Regions from separate parts of the Homo sapiens genome. Here all the other regions are linked to region 4. Evidence: promoter capture Hi-C in 16 types of primary human blood cells and fetal thymus (Javierre and others, 2016). All regions are on one chromosome and are shown on one strand. Each heading gives the region's core, a stretch centred on a gene start or on the middle of the fragment in contact. The rest is flanking DNA. Distances are from core to core; before and after follow the strand shown. Region 1 overlaps LARS1 (leucyl-tRNA synthetase 1). Region 2 overlaps LARS1 (leucyl-tRNA synthetase 1). Region 3 overlaps LARS1 (leucyl-tRNA synthetase 1). Region 4 holds the start of TCERG1 (transcription elongation regulator 1).

The links. Contacts are between HindIII fragments. The CHiCAGO score rates a contact against its expected background, and 5 or more counts as called.
Region 1: a contact is called between a fragment that was not itself captured here and the fragment with the promoter of TCERG1 in region 4, in 8 of 17 cell types (activated CD4 T cells, monocytes, total B cells and 5 more). The highest score is 6.8, in activated CD4 T cells.
Region 2: a contact is called between a fragment that was not itself captured here and the fragment with the promoter of TCERG1 in region 4, in 9 of 17 cell types (fetal thymus, naive B cells, activated CD4 T cells and 6 more). The highest score is 9.1, in fetal thymus.
Region 3: a contact is called between a fragment that was not itself captured here and the fragment with the promoter of TCERG1 in region 4, in 3 of 17 cell types (activated CD4 T cells, naive CD8 T cells and naive B cells). The highest score is 6.1, in activated CD4 T cells.

What each region holds. Positions count from the first base shown.
Region 1 is chr5:146,149,684-146,155,137 of GRCh38, reverse strand. LARS1 (leucyl-tRNA synthetase 1) reads left to right here. Exons shown (of 32, transcript NM_020117.11): 11 at 1,158-1,245; 12 at 1,328-1,404; 13 at 1,911-1,964; 14 at 3,136-3,276; 15 at 5,439-5,454. Among named protein-coding and RNA genes, the nearest start is that of LARS1, 30 kb to the left of the region's middle. RefSeq lists an enhancer at 3,504-3,673. The HindIII fragment of the contact is 3,408 bases long and covers 1,598-5,005 here.
Region 2 is chr5:146,166,196-146,171,521 of GRCh38, reverse strand. LARS1 (leucyl-tRNA synthetase 1) reads left to right here. Exons shown (of 32, transcript NM_020117.11): 5 at 3,257-3,394. Among named protein-coding and RNA genes, the nearest start is that of LARS1, 14 kb to the left of the region's middle. RefSeq lists a cis regulatory region at 417 and enhancers at 333-502, 1,733-1,902. The HindIII fragment of the contact is 9,737 bases long and covers 1-5,326 here.
Region 3 is chr5:146,130,307-146,135,132 of GRCh38, reverse strand. It overlaps LARS1 (leucyl-tRNA synthetase 1), which reads left to right. Exons shown (of 32, transcript NM_020117.11): 23 at 2,052-2,235; 24 at 4,024-4,114. Among named protein-coding and RNA genes, the nearest start is that of PLAC8L1, 27 kb to the right of the region's middle. RefSeq lists an enhancer at 1,805-1,974. The HindIII fragment of the contact is 2,354 bases long and covers 139-2,492 here.
Region 4 is chr5:146,445,536-146,450,720 of GRCh38, reverse strand. TCERG1 (transcription elongation regulator 1) reads right to left here and starts at 3,388. Exons shown (of 23, transcript NM_001382548.1): 1 at 3,313-3,388. The coding sequence starts at 3,371. RefSeq lists a silencer at 3,020-3,099 and an enhancer at 3,018-3,725. The HindIII fragment of the contact is 4,342 bases long and covers 1,803-5,185 here.

The DNA of each region.
Region 1 (5,454 bases), core at 2,052-4,551, 300 kb after region 4:
GCTCATGCCTGTAATGCCAGCACTTTGGGAGGCAGAGGTGCGTGGATCACCTGGGGTCAGGAGTTCAAGACCAGCCTGGCCAACATGGTGAAACCCTGTCTCTACTAAAAATACAGAAATTAGCCAGGCGTGGTGGTGCATGCCTGTAATCCCAGCTACATGGGAGGCTGAGGCAGGAATCGCTGGAACCTGGGAGGCGGAGGTTGCAGTGAGCCGAGATCATGCCATTGCACTCCAGCTTGAGTAACAAGAGCAGAACTCCATCTCAAAAAAAAAATTATTTTTCCTCTAGTAGGTATAAAATAATGTGTTTTGTTTTACTTCATATGTATTTTATTTATATTCTTTTCTTTATTTTTTGAGACGGGGTCTCCCTCTGTCACCCAGGCTGGAGTGCAGTGGCACGATCTTGGCTCACTACAACCTCCACCTCTCGGGTTCAAGCAATTCTCCCGCCTCAGCCTTCCAAATAGCTGGGACTACAGGCGCATGCCACCACGCCTGGCTAATTTTTTGTATTTTAGTAGAGACGGGGTTTCACCATGTTGCCCAGGCTGGTCGCGAACTCCTAAGCTCAGGCAATCTGCCTGCCTCAGCATCCCAAAGTGCTGGGTTTACAGGCGTTAGCCACCGCGCTCAGCCTGTATTCATTTTTTAATTGACAGAAATTGTATTTATGGTACGCAATATGTTTTGAAATATATATACATTGTGAAATGGCTAAATTGAGGTAATTAACAAATTTATACCTTACGTACTTACCATTTTCTGTGGTGAGAAGAGTTAAAATTTAAATCAGGTGCAGTGGTATGCACCTGTAGAGCCAGCTACTTGGGAGGCTGGGACCTCAGGAGGCTTGCCTGAGCCCAGGAGCTTGAGCCTGTAGAATGCTATGATAGCACCTGTGAATAGCCTCTACACTCTAGCCTTGGCAACATAGCAAGGCTCTGTCTCTTAAAAAAATCTACACAGCAATTTTCAAGTATAAAATACATTGTTATTTCCTATAGTCACCATATTGTACAATATAGCTCTTGAATTTATTTCCATATATTTTTGATTACTAGCTTCTCAGGGCTTAAAATATTAACATAGTTTTAATTCTAATGGTCACAATGAATTACTTCACCTTTTATATTGATTTTTTTCTTATGCAGGAAATTCTTGGTGCATCACTTTCTGCACCTTTAACATCATACAAGGTGATCTATGTTCTCCCAATGCTAACTATTAAGGAGGATAAAGGTAAAGAGTTTATTTATTTCTAGAAATATTTTGATAAACACATTTTGGTTCTAGTTATTAATTCCACACTTTGTTTTCTAAGGCACTGGTGTGGTTACAAGTGTTCCTTCCGACTCCCCTGATGATATTGCTGCCCTCAGAGACTTGAAGAAAAAGCAAGTAAGTATCTGAGTTTCATGTTTGTATTTCGTCCTCACCATCTCATTGCTTAGGTGCTGCTGAACTACGCTGTGGGACTAGGCTAAAAAGCTATGCATTTATCTTTAAACTGCTATCTCTAACTTGTTTCTTGATGTTAATATATTTTCTGTGGTTTGAATTTTAAATATGTTCACAGAATTTTGAAAAAGCTTTCTGATATTCACATTTTCATTGAAATCTGGCATATGAACCTCAATTTAAGTGATATGTGTATGTCTATGTACATTTTTGCTTTTGGTTGTGTGGTTTCATTTAGGCTATTCACTATAACTTTAGCTATTAAATTTTTGAAGGTTACAGATCCCTTTTGAGATATTTGGCAAAGTTAGAAAATTGCTCTCTATGGAGAGGAGAACAAATAGAAACTTTAAAGAAACTTTTAAGAAACTTTGGAGATTGCTTCTCTCAATGATTCTCCCAGTAAAGTGTTGATCATTAGTGTTAACTTGCAAATTTTTCTGTAGGCCTTACGAGCAAAATATGGAATTAGAGATGACATGGTCTTGCCATTTGAGCCGGTGAGTACATAGATAATTCAGAATATTCACATCCATCTCTTTATCAGAGAAAAAGAAGAGCTAACATGTTTTCCTTATAACAAAATTAATTGGTGGAGTATGAAAAAGAGAGTTTGCTTAAGGATTTACTCACTTTAATTTGATACCTGCTATGGTAGATAAGAGCAAAAGGAAAACTAACAAGCATTTTCTTACCACCTGGCACCTGCAGTTCTGGAACAAATAGCTTTTTAGCATCACCAATTTTATAGTAGCTTGCTTTGCTAGTGTGATCAATTTCCTGGCTTCTAAAGATAAAATTTTGCCCTTTTCATGAATGTTTATATGTAACCATAATAACTTTAACAAAGTCCTGTACAACTCTGTTTTATGTTTCTTGTATTTTCATGTTAGTATCTATAGAAGAAAAACTTTTAAATTACTAGCAAATGATTTTCATTTCATGAAAGATCCAGAGGAATTAATATAAACCAAAAGCACAACCATCCATGAATCTAGTTGTTTACATCAGCAGGCCCCAACCTTTTTGGCACCAGGGACTGGTTTTGTGGAAGACAATTTTTCCATGGACCAGCAGGGTGTGGTAGGGGAATGGTTTTGGCATGAAACTGTGCCACCTTAGATCATCAGGCATTAGATTCTCATAAGGAGCAAGCAACCTAGATCCCTCCATGCACAGTTCACAATAGGGTTCGTGCTTCTATGAGAATCTAATGCCACCCATGATCTGACAGGAGGTGAAGCTCAGGGGGTGATGCTCGCCCGTTCCTCACCTCCTGCTGTGCAGCCTGGTTCCTAATGCCATGGACTGGTACCGGTCCACATCCTTGGGGTTGGGAACCCCTGGTTTACATCATTTTGCTAGTTTCAGTATGAATTACTTAGGTAATTATATGCCAGTGGAGGATAGAGTGTTGGGAAAGGTGTGTGTGGTGGGGGAAGGGCATTGGGGGTGTTGGTACACAGAGTATGGGTGGTTCCTGTGGAGAGTAGAAGGACAAATTTACATCTGGAAGTTAGTCACTCTGTGATTACTTAATGTGTGGCAGTGTCGTAATGACATATACAATCTGAAATGACTTAATTGGACATTAGAGGCAAAAGGACTTGTGCCCTACAGAGCTGTGTGTCCAGTCAGTGTGAACACGTTCCTGATTGCTGTTTGCTGCAGGTGCCAGTCATTGAAATCCCAGGTTTTGGAAATCTTTCTGCTGTAACCATTTGTGATGAGTTGAAAATTCAGAGCCAGAATGACCGGGAAAAACTTGCAGAAGCAAAGGAGAAGATATATCTAAAAGGATTTTATGAGGGTGTAAGTAATAATTTTTTTTAGTTTTTATTTGCTTTACTCCATGCTCTGTGATTTTCTTAATTAGAAAAAATGTAGAAAAATTTAACATAGTTTCAGCTATACATTGATTTGAGAGCTTAATATGAGAATGTATTCTATTTCCAAATTTCTAATTTTTGTTTTTATCATGTCCTTTGCCTAAAAGCATTTTCAGAAATTGTCTTTTTCGTGCCCTCTAGGAATCTCTATGGAGTGAATTTCTTGACAAGATATTTCAAATTAGTTCATATTATTATGCAGTAAACTTCAAAGATTTATTGAATGGAGAATACCTGGTCCCTTCTTTTGCTCTTTTAGTTAAGGAGTTCATATTTTAGATAAGCAGTTTTATTCAGTCCATTAATTTATTTATTAATGTCTACTAAATGCCAGGTGAGTTCAACAAACATGTTCTGAACCATTCTTTTCTCCTAATTGTGCATATGTTAATGTGGTTTATATTTCCATGGAAAGAAGGCTAGGCTAGAGAACATAAAAATCCAAACAAGTTATTAGGTGCTTCAGAGTCAAATGAAGATTTTTAAGGACATCAACAAGAATGTTTTTTAGTTTAGCTTTCCTACATTTTTCTGGATAACCAAGAATTGGTTACATTTCTTTTTTTTGAAGTGACACATATTTTGAATGATGATAAAAGCAACACTTATGTAGCACTTATATATTAATTTACTTAATTCTGAAAATAACCCCATTCTGAAGTAGGCACTCTTATCTCCAATTTACGGATGAGGAAATGGAGGCACAAAGAGATTATTAACTGATTTACTTGAGATTAGCCAGATAGTTAGCCAGTGGGAACTGGAATTCAAACTAGGTAGCCTGGCTCTGGGATTTACATTTGTGTGTGTGTGTGTGTGTGTGTGTGTGTGTGTGTGTGTGTCTATCTGACGGAGTCTTGCTCTGTCTCACAGGCTGGAGTGCGGTGGCTCAATCTCAGCTCACTGCAGCCTCCAACTTCCGGGTTCAAGCGATTCTCCTGCCTCAGACTCCTGAGTAGCTGGGACTACAGGCACGTGCCACCATGACCAGCTAATTTTTGTATTTTTAGTAGACACGAGGATTTCACCATATTGGTCAGACTGGTCTCGAACTCCTGACCCCAAGTGATCTGCCCACCTTGGCCTCCCAAAGTGCTGGGAGTATAGGCTTGAACCACTGCACCTGGCCAGATTTGTGTTCTTTTTTTTTTTTTTTTTGAGACGGAGTCTTGCTGTGTCGCCCAGGCTGGAGTGGAGTGGCTCAATCTTGGCTCACTGCGACCTCTGCTTCCTGGGCTCAAGCAGTTCTCCTGCCTCAGCCTCCTGAGTAGCTGGGATTACAGGCCCCTGCCATCACACCCAGCTAATTCAGATTTGTGTTCTTAATCACTGCATTCATTAAATATAACTTTATAATGCTGGATTAAATAGATATTGAAGTATTTTGGTATGTTAGAGGTTTAGAATGTCAAAAGAGAATGCATGTCTTTTCTACCTAAGATAGAAACAATTTGAGAGAAATATAAGAGTCATGTAGATGAAAATAAGAGTCATGTAGGTGAAAATATCTGCTTTATTACCAGAGAAAGCTGGAAGGTGATTGAGGCTTAATTGATGGCAACAATGGATAAGCTAATACTTTGCCCTAGAATGTTATTGGCCTACTGAAAAAGATAGAGGTGAAAGAGTAGGCCTCCTTCTAAGAGCAAGCTTTATCACATGGTCAGGCAAAGAATACTCACCTGCAGCAGGTGGGGTTAGAAAGAGGAGCCTAATTAGATGAAGCCGAATGTACTTAGTTCCTTCAGAAACCACCAGGAATGAGGTGAGTGAGTGTAATTGAAGTCTGTCTATGTGGAAACTTAAGAAGTGGAAGTGAGTATTCCTTCCTAATCATGCTCACACTAGGTATCTCCGTGATACCTAGTGAGGTGTGGGTATCACTGACAGAACGATAAGTGTGTTATAAATATTAGTTATCCATGCTATACCAAAATGAAAAATTATCGTTGTAAATATGATAAATTTCATACTAAAAATATTTCGGTGGGCAGAAGCAAATTTAGTTAGGGAAAATTAGGAAAGAAACTCAAGGCAGATTCTAACTGTTTTATATGTGGTTTTTCTCCCCTCTCATCCTTTTAGATCATGTTGGTGGATG
Region 2 (5,326 bases), core at 1,605-4,104, 280 kb after region 4:
TTCATTTGTCATAAGTTTGTATTAGAAATAATTCTCAATGAAGAATAGGAAAGAAAACTAGAGTTGAAAGGATTCCTTTATATAATAGGATTAGGAAATTTAAATCCTATTTCTTTTTATTCTCCAACATTTTATTTTATTTTACTTTATTTTATTTTTTTTTTGAGACGGAGTTTTGCTTTTGTCGTCCAGGCTGCAGTGCAATGGTGTGATCTTGGCTAACTGCAACCTCCTTCTCCTGGGTTCAAGCGATTCTCCTGCCTCAACCTCCCGAGTAGCTGGGATTACAGGCACCCGCCACCACACCTGGCTAATTTTTGTATTTTTAGTAGAGACGAGGTTTCCCCGTGTTGGCTAGGCTGTTCTGGAACTCCTGACCTCAGTTGATCCACCCACCTCGGCCTTCCAAAGTGCTGGGATTACAAGCGTGAGCCACCATGCCCGGCCTTCTGCAACCTTTTATTTTAAAGAATGTCAATCCTACAGAAAAAGTGGAATGGTAGTACAATGAACACCCTCCACCCTTCACCTGTAGTTACAAAGTCTTAACGTTTGCCATATTTGTTTTAGTTCTGTCTCTTAGCACACATGCATGCATGCGTGCTTTTCTCTTTCTTTTTCTTCTTTTTTTTTTTTCTGAGTTGGAGTCTTGCTCTGTCACCCAGGCTGGAGTGCAGTGTTGTACTTTTAGTACAGATGGGGTTTCACCATGTTGGCCAGGCTGGTTTCAAACTCCTGACCTCAGGTAATCTGCCCACCTCGGCCTCCCAAAGTGCTGGGATTACAGGCATGAGCCACCACGCCTAGCCCTTCTCTCTCTCTTTTTCTGTGAACTTTTTGAAAGAAAGTTGCAGATATCATGACGTGTCATTGCTAAATACTTCAGCATGTATTCTAAGAACAAGGGCATTCTTCTACATTATCAGAGTCCTGTTATCCCCTCCAAGAAATTCAACATTGATGTTATATTATCGTCTTCATCTAATCTGTAGTCAAATTTCTGTAGACTCAAAATGTCCTTTCCATCTGTTTTTCCCCCCTTTTTTTTTTTTGAGACGGAATCTTGCTCTGTCACTCAGTCTGGAGTGCAGTGGTGAGATCTTGGCTTGCTGCAACATCTGCCTCCCAAGTTCAAGTGATTCTCTTGCCTCAGCCTCCTGAATATCTGGGATTACAGGTGCCTGCTACCATGCCTGGCTAATGTTTTTTGTATTTTTAGTGTAAACAGGGTTTCACCATGTTGGGCAGGCTGGTCTCGAACTCCTGACCTTAGGTGATCCGCCTGCCTTGGCTTCCCACAGTGCTGAGATTACAGGCTTGACCCACTATGCCCTGCTGTTTTTCACTTTTTATTTTGTGGAGCACACATTGCATGTAATTATCCATTCTTTTCACTGTCTTTTAGTTGTTTGTCGTGATATTGATGTTTTTGAAGTCTAAGCTAGTTATTTTGTAGAATGTCCTATGATATGAGTTTTCTGATTGTTTTTTCATGATTAGGGTTGGGCTAAATATTTTGACAAGAATACTTCATTGTTGAGGTATTAACTTACCATTGTATCACCTCAAAAGCATATAAAATGGTAATTTGTCCCATTTAGTGAAATTAAGTTAATCCTGCCAGGTTTCCTCATTCTAAAGGTGACTTTTCCTCCTATAAAATTAAAAAGTAAGGCCAGACACGGTGGCTCACGCCTGTAATCCCAGCACTTTGGGAGGCCGAGGCAGGAGGATCACATGAGGTCAGGAGTTCAAAACCAGCCTGGCCAACGTGGTGAAACCCCATCTCTACTAAAAATACAAAAATTAGCCGGGCGTGGTGGCAGGTGCCTGTAATTCCAGCTACTTCGGAGGCTATGTCAGGAGAATCGCTTGAACCCGGGAAGTAGAGGTTGCAGTGAGCCGAAACTGCGCCATTGCACTCCAGCCTGGGCAACAAGAGTAAAATTCCATCTCAAAAAAAAAAAAGAAAGAAATTAAAAAGTAATCTATAGGATAACACTTTGAGAGCCTCTGAATGTCCTGTTACTCAATAACCCTGGTTTTATCATCCTTTAATCATCCTTGCCTGTTTTTATTATTCTATTAGTGGTTGAAATTCTTCTGAATAGAAGAGCCTTTTCCATTTAAAAAATTTTTACTTCTGTATTTCTTATTTTTCTCATAACTTTAACAGTGTTTACTTGGTGTCATCTTTGTTTTTGACAGTGGACTCATTGTGGTATAATTGATAAGAGCTAGAGTGGAAAGTCCAAGGTTAAGTCTGTAACTTTGCTAGCTGTATGACCTTGGGTAAATCACTTCATCTCTGTTTGTTTTCTGACTTAAAGCCTATCCTATCTACTTGGTAGGCTTGTGATGATAACTAATAGAGTATATGTGACAGTAATCTATCTTTCTTTCTTTCTTTCTTTCTTGCTGGTGGGATTTTATTTTTGTTTTTATTTATTTTTTATTATTATACTTTAAGTTCTGGGGTACATGTGCACAATGTGCAGCTTTGTTACATGTGTATACATGTGCCATATTGGTGTGCTGCACCCATTAACTCGTCATTTACATTAGGTATATCTCCTAATGCTATCCCTCCCCCCTCCTGACAGTAATCTTTAAATTGAGAAACAATGTTATTAATGTTATCCAAAATGATAACACATTATGTTTCCTACATCTTTATATATCTAATATATATGGTATATAGTATACTATATTGAATATTCTGGGTGTTGAATAAATGTTTTTGAGTAAATTAGGTAAAATACTACTTTATAAATTAGTGAATTTTGAGGTACATGATTTATACCTTTTTTTAATTTAATTTTATTTTTTTGAGACATGGGACTCATTCTTGCTTTGTTGCCCAGGCTAGAGTGCAGTGATGTGATCTCGGCTCACTGCACCCTCTGCCTCTTGGTTTTAAGTGATCCTGTCACCTCAACCTCCCAAGTAGCTGGGATTACAGGCGTGTGCTACCACACCCAGCTAATTTTTATATTTAGTAGAGACATCATGTTGGCCAGGCTGGTCTCGAACTCCTGACAAGTGATCTGCCTGCCTCAGCCTCCCAAGGTGCTGGGATTATAGGCGTGAGCCACTGCTCCCAGCCTCCGTTTCAGTTTTCTGTAGTGGAGCCACATAGGTATCAATATATTGCAAAAAATTTCAGAGTCAATTTTAGTTGGCAATAAAAACAGTAAAAAACTGAAATTGTGTCTACCTTGATTTTGAACTTCATTATCTCTAATATTCGTTGTAGGCATGTGCTGATAAGTTGAAAAGAGAAATAGAGCTGTATGGTTGCCCCCCTGATTTTCCAGATGAAGAAGAGGAAGAGGAAGAAACCAGTGTTAAAACAGAAGATATAATAATTAAGGATAAAGCTAAAGGAAAAAAGGTTTGATAGTGGTTGATATTTATGTTGGTTGAAGTTTTATATTTTTCTGATTTATATGTGCATTCCCAGTACTAGCACAGTGCCCAACACATAAAATGTACTAGATCATTTTTTTAAAGTATCAAAGCAAAAAATTATCTTTCTGGCCAGGCGCGGTGGCTCAAGCCTGTAATCCCAGCACTTTGGGAGGCCGAGGCAGGCAGATCATGAGGTCAGGAGATCGAGACCATCCTGGCTAACATGGTGAAACCCCGTCTCTACTAAAAATACAAAAATTAGCCGGGCGTAAGCCGGTCGTAGGCCGGGCGCGGTGGCTCACGCCTGTAATCCCAGCACTTGGGGAGGCCGAGGCGGGCGGATCATGAGGTCAGGAGATCGAGACCATCCTGGCTAACATGGTGAAACCCCGTCTCTACTAAAAATACAAAAAAATTAGCCGGGCGTGGTGGCTCACGCCTGTAATCCCAGCACTTGGGGAGGCCAAGGCGGGCGGATCACGAGGTCAGGAGATCGAGACCATCCTGGCAAACATGGTGAAACCCCATCTCTACAAAAAATTAGCCGGGCGTGGTGGTGGGCGCCTGTATTCCCAGCTACTCGGGAGGCTGAGGCATCAGAATGGCGTGAACCCTGGAGGTGGAGCTTGCAGTGAGCCCAGATCACGCCACTGCACTCCAGCCTGGGCAACAGAGCGAGACTCTGTCTCAAAAAAAAAAAAAAATTATCTTTCTGACTTTCCTATTTCCTTTTTCCTCTTTTTTGAAGTAATTTTAGATTTACAGAAGAACTGCAAGATAGTATATAGATGTTAAATCTTATATAACTATGATACTATTTTTCAAATTAAGGAATTAACATTAGTACAGTAGTGTTTACTAAACTACAGACTTTTTGGATTTTACCAGTTTTTTCACTAATGTCCTTTTCTCTTCCAATGTCCAATCCAGGATCCCACATTGCAGTTAGTTGTCATGTGTCCTTACTATGTTTCCTTAATCTTTTCTGTCTTTCGTTTTCTTCTATGACCTTTATACTTTTAACGAATACGGGTCAGATAATTATAGATAATGCCTCAGTTTGAGTTTGTTTGATGCTTTCTCATCGTTAGATTGAGGTTATTGATTTGGAGGAAGACTATTAGGTAATTTGTCGTTCTCAAGCGTTAGGGAGTATATGATACTGATATGTCTTATTATTGGTGATGTTAACATTGATCATTTGGTTAAGATGGCGTCTGCCAGGTTTTTCTCCTGTAAAGATTTCATTTTTTTTTAAATAATTAATATATATTTTGGGAGAGATCTTTTGAGGCCATGGAAATAATACTGTGTTTCTTTTTAAATATTTGCTCATTAATTTTAGCATTCATCAGTGGATCTTGCCTACAACAATTATTACTCTAGTCTTCTAATCATGATTTTCCATTTTCCTCTTTCTTTTTACATTTATTATCTATAATTCCTCTGAAAAGAAGAGCTGTCCTTTCTCCCCCACTTACTTAATCTGTCCTTTCTATGTCATATGGATTCATGGATATTCACTTTATTCTTCAGGTTATAAGCCAATACCATTGAGCTTTTTGTTTTTTAAGAGATGGAGTCTCACTATGTTGCTGGTCTTCAGCTCTGGGGCTCAAGCTGTCTTCTCACCTCAGTCTCCTGAGTAGCTGGAACTATAGGCTTATACCTCTGTGCCTGGCTATTGGGTTGTTTTTGAGTGTGTGTGTGTGGTTGTTAACAACACCGTAATTTGTTGTCAAATTGTTCTTTTTTATTAGAATAAAGCTAGAATAAATAAATTGTTCTAGCTGTGGCCATTGGGAGTTTTTTTAGCTTGGCTCCTGTGTCCATTAGACATTCCCTCATCTTCCTTTGTTCAAAGCAATTGCTTTCTTTATGGTGTCACAAGCTGTTCCAGGCTTGTATTTTCCGT
Region 3 (4,826 bases), core at 66-2,565, 310 kb after region 4:
CTTTGGGAGGCTGAGGCAGGAGAATCGCTTGAACCCGGGAGGCGGAGGTTGCAGTGGGCTGAGATTGCATTGCACTCCAGCTTAGGCAACAAGAGTGAAACTCTGTCTCAAAAAAAAATGTTGAGTATGTAGGAAGCTTTTCCAAGATATTTCCTCTGTATTTGGTATTCCATTCTTATTAACTGAGACAGAGTCTTGCTCTGTCACCCAGGCTGGAGTACAGTGGCATGATCTTGGCTCACTGCAACCTCCATCTCCAGGGTTCAAGCGATTCTTGTGCCTCAGCCTCTCAAATAGCTGGGATTACAGGCATGTGCCTGCACGCTTGGCTAATTTTTGTATTTCTAGTAGAGACGGGGTTTTGCCTTGTTGGCCAGGCTGGTCTTGAACTCTTGGCCTCAAGTGATCCACCCTCCTTGGCCTTCCAAAGTGCTGGGATTATAGGCATGAGCCACCATGCCTGGCCTGTATTTGGTATTCCTAAATGTGTCTTGAACCTGGGAACATTGATTTTTTCAGAAAATTGTTTTTTTGTCTGGCCTCAGTCCTATTACATTTTATTATTATCGTGTCAAGAGAAGAAATGCACTATCCTGAAAGAACCATTCATTTCTTATATAATTAGTCATTGGTCATCATGGTACTTCTTTTTATTGGTCATGGCTAACTCAGTTTGTGTTCTCAGTATTTTGACTGGACACCAAAGCCAAAGACGGAACTGTATCCAAATAATATAGTTAGTCTGTTTCTTACAAGATATATAAGCAATTATGAAACCACTTTATGTATATATTAGGATTGAATAAATAAGTAAACAGGTAGATAATGAGAACCTCTGCCTCACAGAGCTCACTATCAGAAAAAGAAGCTATAAATAAGTAAAGAGAAAATGCTAGAATGAGCCCTATGGGGTCAGATTGGATTTGGTGATAAAAGTATGAGCTCATGATTTTTATTTTGTGTATAGATATGTAGATATAAAACTAAACAGCTGGGTGTGGTGGCTCACACTTGTAATCCCAGCACTTTGGGAGGCTGAGGTGGGCAGTTTACCTGAGATCGGGAGTTTCAGACCAGCCTGACCAACATGGAGAAACCCTGTCTCTATTAAAAGTACAAAATTAGCCGGGCGTGGTGGCGCATGCCTGTAATCCCAGCTACTCAGGAGGCTGAGGCAGTAGAATTGCTTGAATCCAAGAGGCGGAGGTTGCACTGAGCCGAGATCGCGCCATTGCATTCTATCTTGGGCAACAAGAGCGAAACTCCATCTCAAACAAACAAACAAAAAACATAGATATGTGTATGTATGGGTTAGTATACAAATATGAACTGTTAAGTGGAAAAGGCAAAGTGCAGAACCTGAATGCTTTGATTGGACACCAAAGCTAAAGACGGAAATAACTACATAATGAGTTCCCTCTTTTTTTTTTTTTTTTTTTTGCAACCCTATAGTGTTCCATTGTAGGGATATCCTACAGTTTAATTGATGGACATTTAGGTTCTTTTTTTCAATATTTTAGAATGGAAGATTTTGGTAGTACTGAGAGATGAGAATTGAAAAAGTAAAGTTTTATTAGTGATAAACTTGTAAGAACCTAGTTTCAAAACTGAGAAAAATTCATATGCATTTGTACACATAAGGCACCAGTGTGTATTCTCATGTATTAAAATGTATTTTGCTACCTCTAAATGAGGCTGAAATGTTGATAAGAAAACCACAATGAAAGGTGTGTCTTTATCCCCACTTTATCATTTTCTATCTCTGCCTCATTAAAGATCACTTTATCTCATTAACTCAACATGCCTGAGAAGAAACACATATTGGTGCTTAGTGGATGCAAATCAATATGGATGGTTCGAATATTTTAACATCACGGTTAGGGATGCTACTTTTTGGTGATTTTAATTTTTGTTGTTGATCCAGGACAGTCCTTTAAAGCATTTGTTAATTTATATATGGGCTTTGCAAGGTATCCAACTGGACACATAGGACACAGTTGATACTCAGTAACCATATTTTTAATGCATTGAATTTTTTTTTCTTCTTCCAGGAATGCGTTTGGCTCTGGCTGATGCTGGTGACACTGTAGAAGATGCCAACTTTGTGGAAGCCATGGCAGATGCAGGTATTCTCCGTCTGTACACCTGGGTAGAGTGGGTGAAAGAAATGGTTGCCAACTGGGACAGCCTAAGAAGTGGTCCTGCCAGCACTTTCAATGATAGAGTTTTTGCCAGGTAATCTGTAGATCCCAATCATTTTGTGTTTTAGAGTTACTTAGTCCTGGTGCATTTTTGTTTTCTTTTTCTTTTCTTTTCTTTTTTTTTTTTAATAAAATAAACTAATGATAATAATAGCTAGTGTTCATTGAAGGCTTACTTGTGCCGGGTACTATGCTAAGTATTTTGTGTCCATTATCTGACTTTAACCTCAAAGCAACCTTATTTAATACAGATATTATTAGCTCTATTTTATAAATAAAGAAACTGAAGCTTAGAACAATTAAGTATTTCCTTAAATGCCTTAAAGCTAGTAGTTGCAAACTTGGGATATGAACTTGCTTCTGTCTGTCTTGAAAGTCTGTTCTCATAACCATTTTACCATGTTGTCTTGTTTTCGAGTAGGGCAAAATGGTTAAAGGAAAAGTAGATTAAAAGAAAAGGATAAATATCTTTGGAGTCATCCTACGCACTGGTATTATAAAGATGAATGAGACCTGATCCTTATTGTCTAGCAAGAGAGACAAACACCCAGTTTCTAAGCACAATAATAGAGACAAGGAGAATTCAGAGATGTCATGTGACTTCTGGGTTTCTTTTTTTTTTTTCCTGAGACAGAGTCTCGCACTGTCACTCAGGCTGGAGTGCAATGGCACAATCTCAGCTCACTGCAGCCTCTGCCAGGTTCAAGCTATTCTTCTGCCCCAGCCTCCCTACTAGCTGGGATTACAGGTGCCTGCCACCACGTCTGGCCAATTTTTTGTATTTTTAGTAGAGATGGGGTTTCACTGTGTTGGCCAGGCTGGTCTCGAACTCATGACCTTGTGATCCACCTGCCTCAGTCTCCCAAAGTGCTGGGATTACAGGCGTGAGCCACCACGCCCGGCCAAATTCTGGGTTTCTTGAAAAATAAACAATGTTTTCAGGGAGAGGAGAAAGTGTGGATAAGCCATGGAAAGGGTCTGATATTTATTTGAAGTACATTATCTTGTGGGCAGAGGTAGGAAATGAAACAGGTTGGGGCCAGATTAGGCCAAATTAAGAAGAACCTGGATTGGTATGAGAAAATTTTTTTCTGATATCCAGTATTAGTTATTGTAAATGCAATAATTAAAACCTGGCTATGGCCAGGCACTGTGGCTCACGCCTGTAAACCAGGCACTTTGAAAGGCTGAGGTGGGAGGATTGCTTGAGCCCAGGAGTTTGAGACCAGCCAGGGCAACAAAGTGAGATCCTGTCTCTACAAAAAAAAAAAAAATTAGCTGGGTGTGGTGGCTTGCGCCTGTAGTCCTAGTACTTGGGAGGCTGAGGTGAGAAGATTCTTTGAGCCTAGGAGTTTGAGGCTGCAGTGAGTTGTGATCATACCACTGCATTCTAGCCTAGGTGACAGAGACCCTGTCTCAAAAAAAAAAAAAAAAAAAAAAAAAAACTTGGCTACAACCTTAGTTAGGCTATTTTCATGTTGCATTTTGGGCTTTATAAGAATAAAGTGTCCATCAGGAAATTTCTGAAGAAGCATCATTTATTGTCATAAACAGGAGCCCTAAGCAGTGTCAGATGACAGTACTTAAGGATGGATAGACAATAGAGAGATTGCAGTAATTTGTTTTAAGGAACGCAAAGATGGTGTTGTGTTGAGCAGTTTTAAATGTTCTGGGCATTGTTCTCATTTTACTGCTTAAATGAGCAGTATTTCAAATTTGTATATTAAAAAGCAGTATTTTAAATTTGTGTATGCAGCAGTTTTTTATAGCTATGTATAAGTGCCTTTAAACTCAATAACCTTTTTTTCCCCGTATTCAATAGTGAATTGAATGCAGGAATTATAAAAACAGATCAAAACTATGAAAAGATGATGTTTAAAGAAGCTTTGAAAACAGGGTTTTTTGAGTTTCAGGTAGGCTGTTGATTCTTTTGGTAGCTATAAAACATGTCAATGTGAACATTATGTATTTTCCCCCTTTTTTCTTCCTGCTATAGCACAATTACTCGCCTAAAGTGTAGACTGAAAATCCTGCCAGAAAAATTTTAAATTCTTCAATAAATTGTGATTTTAAGTTATTATCTTTGGTATTTTTTCTATTGTGTCCATTTAATTTAATAATTCTGCTCCTAGTTAAGCTATGAGCATTAATATAAAGGAGATTAAATCTAAAATTCAGCTATACTTTCCAGGAAAACATTTCAAAATTGATAAAAACAAAGGCAAAATTGTAATTAATTGCCATTAATTTGAGAGCAAGCGTTTTCTGAGGTTTTCCACAAGGTGTCAGTATTTCCTCAAGTTTGGCATTTAAAGTGCTTAAAGTAAAAATGTAGCTTTACGCAATGAGCTGTGTAAAATATCACATTGAGTTTTATATAACTTGGTTTTCAGAGTTGTGGTTAAATAAGGATAAATGGCTGGGCATAGCAATGTGTTGTATTTATAGTCTTTTTTTATATTTAATATCCTATATGCTGCTAAGAGCAGTCACCCTTAATATACAGTTAAAGTTGTTCAACTTTTATGTCTCAGTTACAAACTGTCTGTAAAAAAATTCTTTTTTTGAGAATTATTAGTATAAAACTGCCATATACTTTGGACAAAGATAAATACTTGCAGATTC
Region 4 (5,185 bases), core at 2,139-4,638:
AATAGCCTGAAGTTGCCATTTTCTGATGTTAATTACGCACAGAACATGGGCTGGGCTCTTTATATTATACTGCTTCATCACAACAACCTCACCAGAACCTGCAATGAGGATTAAATGAGCTAATAAAGTACTTGGAATAGTGCTTAGTATGTAAGTGCTATCTAAGTTATTAGCTATCATTACTGTTTCTGTAACATTAGGACAGTAATAGTACTGGTAAGTGTTAAATAATATTAATATTAGTAATGTTAGCTATTATTACTATAATTATTATATCAGGCCCTGTATAACCTGGCCCACATTAACCTTTCCACAAATTCTAGTCTTTTCCTTTAAATATTTCAAGTTTATTACTTTGAAGCCTCTGCACCTGTTCTCTTTGCCGAGCATGTTCTTCCCCAGATTTTCACATAACTAGCTCCTTCTCATTACTCAGCCTCTAGTTCAAATGTCACCTCAAACTGTTTTCCCACTTCTGGCCTCTACAGGCCCTCTCAGGATCATTATTCCTAATTTGAGTTTTCGATTATGATAAATGCTATGAAGAAATCTCCCATTTACTTCTGTATTATCTTTAGCCACTAGTATATAGTTCCCTTTAGTATACTGTTGCAACACATTAAAACACATTATTGTTTTAATAATGATAGTAAAGTTCCTATATACCAGCATGGTTATACAGACATTATCCGTATTAACTCTTAATCCTCACTACAGCCCAATAAGGTAAGTTTGACACCATTTTTACAGAGGAAATGATAGCACAGAAAAATATTTTCTTAAGGCAGCTAGTCAGTGATAACACCAGAATATTCTTATTCTCATTTTATAGATAAGGAAATTTAGATTGCAAGTATCTTAAGTATTGATAGGTAAACAAAGGCTCTAGGGAAAGGATCTATACAAATGACTCTGGAAGTTACTTTAATGGTATTTGGAACGTCTATAAATTTTCCATCTATTGTGATTTGCATTCCTACCACTTACAACCTTTCTGAAAAACAAAAGCCTACTTGCATGAATAGAAGGAACAAAAATATTTCACAAGAACATCATGGAAATACAAACATAAGGTATTTTTCTACAATAGAAGTTCTCTATCCAGATATGCAATCTCCCCAATGCTAAAGACAATACTTTAACTGGAGGGGCAAGAAATAAAAAGATGCTACCGATATATGGGGGCAAATTGTATAAACTATGATTGAGGAGACCTGAGGTTTAGTCCAGACCCTGCCAACTACCCAGTGACCTTGTGTAAGTCACTTCACACTTACAGGCAGATTTAATCATTTGATGTGGTTGATTTCATTTACAATTTAGATGGCTCTTACTTAAGCTGGAAGCTCCTGCAGGACAAACCTCTTTTTTCGGTCTGGTTCAGGGCACTATTACCAGCACCTAGGTCAGCAACTGTCATGTAGCACACAATAAATGTCGGCCCAATAAGTGAAGTATCTTTAAATCTCCTATCTTCATTTATTTACAACATAACTACAGAACATCTCATTTGCCAGGCGGTTATGACAGACACACCATGAAGTACATTCAGGTTACAAATATAATGCAAAAATTAAGCCCCAACTTCTGCCATCAAAGAGGCCACATACACACCTAATTTCATGAGAAATGCTAAAATAAAGATCTGTACAGTATGCTCTGCAAGCAACTTCCAATCCAAGAGGCTACGGTATAAAATATTTGCAACAGGGCAAATTCATTTGCAAATTAAAGCTCTATTCAAATCAGTTGTGCAACAGTGTCTAGACTATTAATAAAGCCATTTGGATTTTTTTAAAGCTTTAGAAAGATACTTTCTAAAATGCAAAAGAATGTTCCCTAATAAATCCATCTGAAACTAGCTAAGTAACCTCCCTTTAAGATCGAAATCAGGAATAAACTTGGCATCGCTAATATTTAAAGATGCTGACAATTCACCTTGATCACTCATTAATACTGTATACATATGGAGTTTAAAGGATTTCAGATTCATCTCTGAAATAAAACAAAATTTCATTTCTGCCAAAGTGGAGATTTGTGTGTGCGACCATACAGAATCTGAAAGGCATTTTCCTCTTCTAAAACCTTGAATAACAATACCCATTTCCTTACACAATTTCATCTTAAGTTCAAGACAGTATCAACAGAGTCTTCATAATCTACCCTGCTCTTTTTCATTTTCAAACGTTGACAACAGCACAATTCAGAATGGGAGCTGAACATCTGAAATGCCATTTCTCCCATACAGAAAAAAACCAAAGTACCAAATACACATAAAGCATAATACCTCTTTTCCTCAAAAACCACTGACCAAAAGATTTCTCCAGGTCACTCTCATTTTACCAAATTTTAATTACAAACTCATAGACACTGAGGTTCCAGGGGAAAAAAAGGTCACTGCACTGTTCAAGGAAATGGCATGAGTAGTAGACGAATAGAACGCCAATTGGGATTGCAGGCTCTGAAACCTGACTGCCTGAGTTCAAGCCACTTCCTGGAGCCACAAATCCGCCTATGCAATCTTATTCTACTGACTCAACCTCCACGAGGCTGTTATCTCACCTGTAAGATGGGCGAGTAACAACTGAAGACCCCTCTGGTCTGTGGCCTGCAAAATGTTAATAGCAACTACTCCAAAGGGTGGTTGTGAGGATTAAATGAGACAAACCTAAGTAAAGGGTTTACTGGCACACGGTAAGTGCCTAATAAGGGGTTGCTACTGTTGTTGTTACTCACAACTACAGGATAATAAGGAATAAAGGGATGAAAAAAGGAAGAAAAGCCACAGAAGTTAAGAAAGGCAAGCAATGAGGGGGATGAAATGAAAGGGCAAACGTGGGGAGCCCAAAGAGCCGCGGAGGGCGTGGAGAAGGCTTAGCCAGAAGTGGCGAGGGGTACAGGGAAAGTAACTGCGGAGTGCAGAGACGTCGATGAGGAAAATCAGGCCCGCAGCGGAGCGCGGCCTGGGGACAGACTCAGGTCGGCCGAGACGGAGGCGACACGCGGCTGAGGCGGGGCCCAAAGGCGGGAGCACCGCGCCCGGCCAGAGGGCTGCAGGCCGCGAGAGGCGGCGAGGCCCCAAGAAAGCACTAGGAAGCAGCCAGGGAACGCGCAGGAGGCCCTGGCCCAGCCCGGGCCCGGCTCTCATTCAAGCCACCTTCCCCTTCCCCCTTCTTAAACCCCATGCGGTCCCGGCCCGGGCCGCCCGGCTCCGCTACCCACCGTCCGCCCCGGATCTCCACATGGCAGGTCTAGCGTCTAGCCTCTGGGGCTCTCGTGAGCAGAGATGTGAAGGAGGGCAGCGTTCCTTACCTGAGCTCCCCCGGGTTGAATCGTTCACTCTCGCCCCCGTCCCCGCCACGCTCCGCCATTACAGAGGGCCGCGTTCATCCACCCGCCGACCCGACGTCTCCTATTGGCTAGAAAAATCGTCAATCCCCAACGAGAGAGGCGGAGACAGCAGAAGTCTGAGATGCGGTTGGTCAAACTTTCCATCAATCTTCGAAATGGGGGCGATATGTTCTTTGCTATTGGGCAAGGCGCCCGCCGACTTTGAAAGCGGTATGAAGACAGCCAGTTGATTGGTGACTCGGGGGCTTTATGGGAAATGAGATTTTAGCAGTGAGGAACCGCCGGCGCCCTCTCGCGGTAAGCAGAACTAAGTCCTCCCAAGTTCGGCTCAGCCTGCGGTAGCCACGTGTCTGTCGGCTTCCAGGAGAGCCAATTGTGGAGCCATATTGGCCAGTAGTAGCTCAGGCGGAGAGCATTTCCACTGGGCAAGCCAATCAAAATCGACCTGGGCCGCGCCTAAACCGATTGCACAGTTGCTGTGGAAAGCCGCTATTTCCTAGCTTTACAGTAGCAGGAGTCTTAAGTCACCACTCAGCTCTATATCCATGTTATTAAATAATATATTATTAATTACAAGAATACCTCCCAAATTATACTAAACCGTTGCAAGCCAATAGGTGTTATAAGTTGCTGCATTAAGAAAGGTAAATTGGCGAAGGCAAGCCTCTTTGCAATTTACAGCTTAACCACGTCTCCCTCGATCTCAAAATGTGCTTGTCTGAAATTAGCACACCCAGAATACCAGACAATTCTGAATATTTATTTAGTTTTTCTAATTAACAAAAAAAAAAGTTTTGGATTTGGGGTTTCAAAGGCACAATGAAGATGAGCCCTTTTATTAAAGTCGTAAAAATATTAAAATAATACTAATAGATAAATTTTACTTGGACCTAACCATGTAGCAAACCCGGATCTAAGTATGTCAGGTACGTTAACTCTTTTAAGATTCAAAAATTGCTAGGAGGTGGGTAACATAGTCACTGTTTGTAGATGAGCTTGAGGCACAGAGAAGTTAAGTAACTTGCCCAAGGTCACACATCTACTAAATAGCAGAGCCTGGTCTTAACCCCAGTCAGCGTAGTAGCAAAGCAGCACTCTTAAATACTGTAAGCCTAAATAATTGGATCCACATAAAAACATGTGCACAAATGTTCACAGCAGCAATATTCATAATAGCCAAAAAGTATTGTAACAACCCAATGACCATCAGCTGATGCATGGTTAAGAAGCATGGTATAGGCCGGGCGCGGTGGCCCAAACCTGTAATCCCAGCACTTTGGGAGGCCTAGACGGGCGGATCACGAGGTCAGGAGATCAAGACCATCCTGGCTCACACGGTGAAACCCTGTCTCTACTAAAAACAAATAGCCCGGCGTGGTGGCGGGCGCCTGTAGTCCCAGCTACTCGGGAGGCTGTGGCAGGAGAATGGCGTGAACCCCGGAGGCAGAGCTTGCAGTGAGCAGAGATCGCGCCACTGCACTCCAGCCTGGGCAACAGAGCGAGACTCCGTCTCAAAAAAAAAAGAAACATGGTATAACTGTACAATGAAATATTGTTCAGACATAAAAAGCCACATACAAAAAGGCCGCCTGTTGTATGATTCCATTTACATGAAATATGATGAAATTGCATTGCATTTCAGGCAAATACATACAGACAGAAAGTAGAACAGTGGTTTCCAGGAGGTAGAGGGGAATGAGGAATTGGAAGTGACTGCTGATGGATATGGAATGTCTTTTTGGATGATAAAAATGTTCTGGAATTGGCGCTGATGGTTGCACAACTTTGTGAATATACTAAAACCCATTGAATTCTATACTATTTATTTATTTAT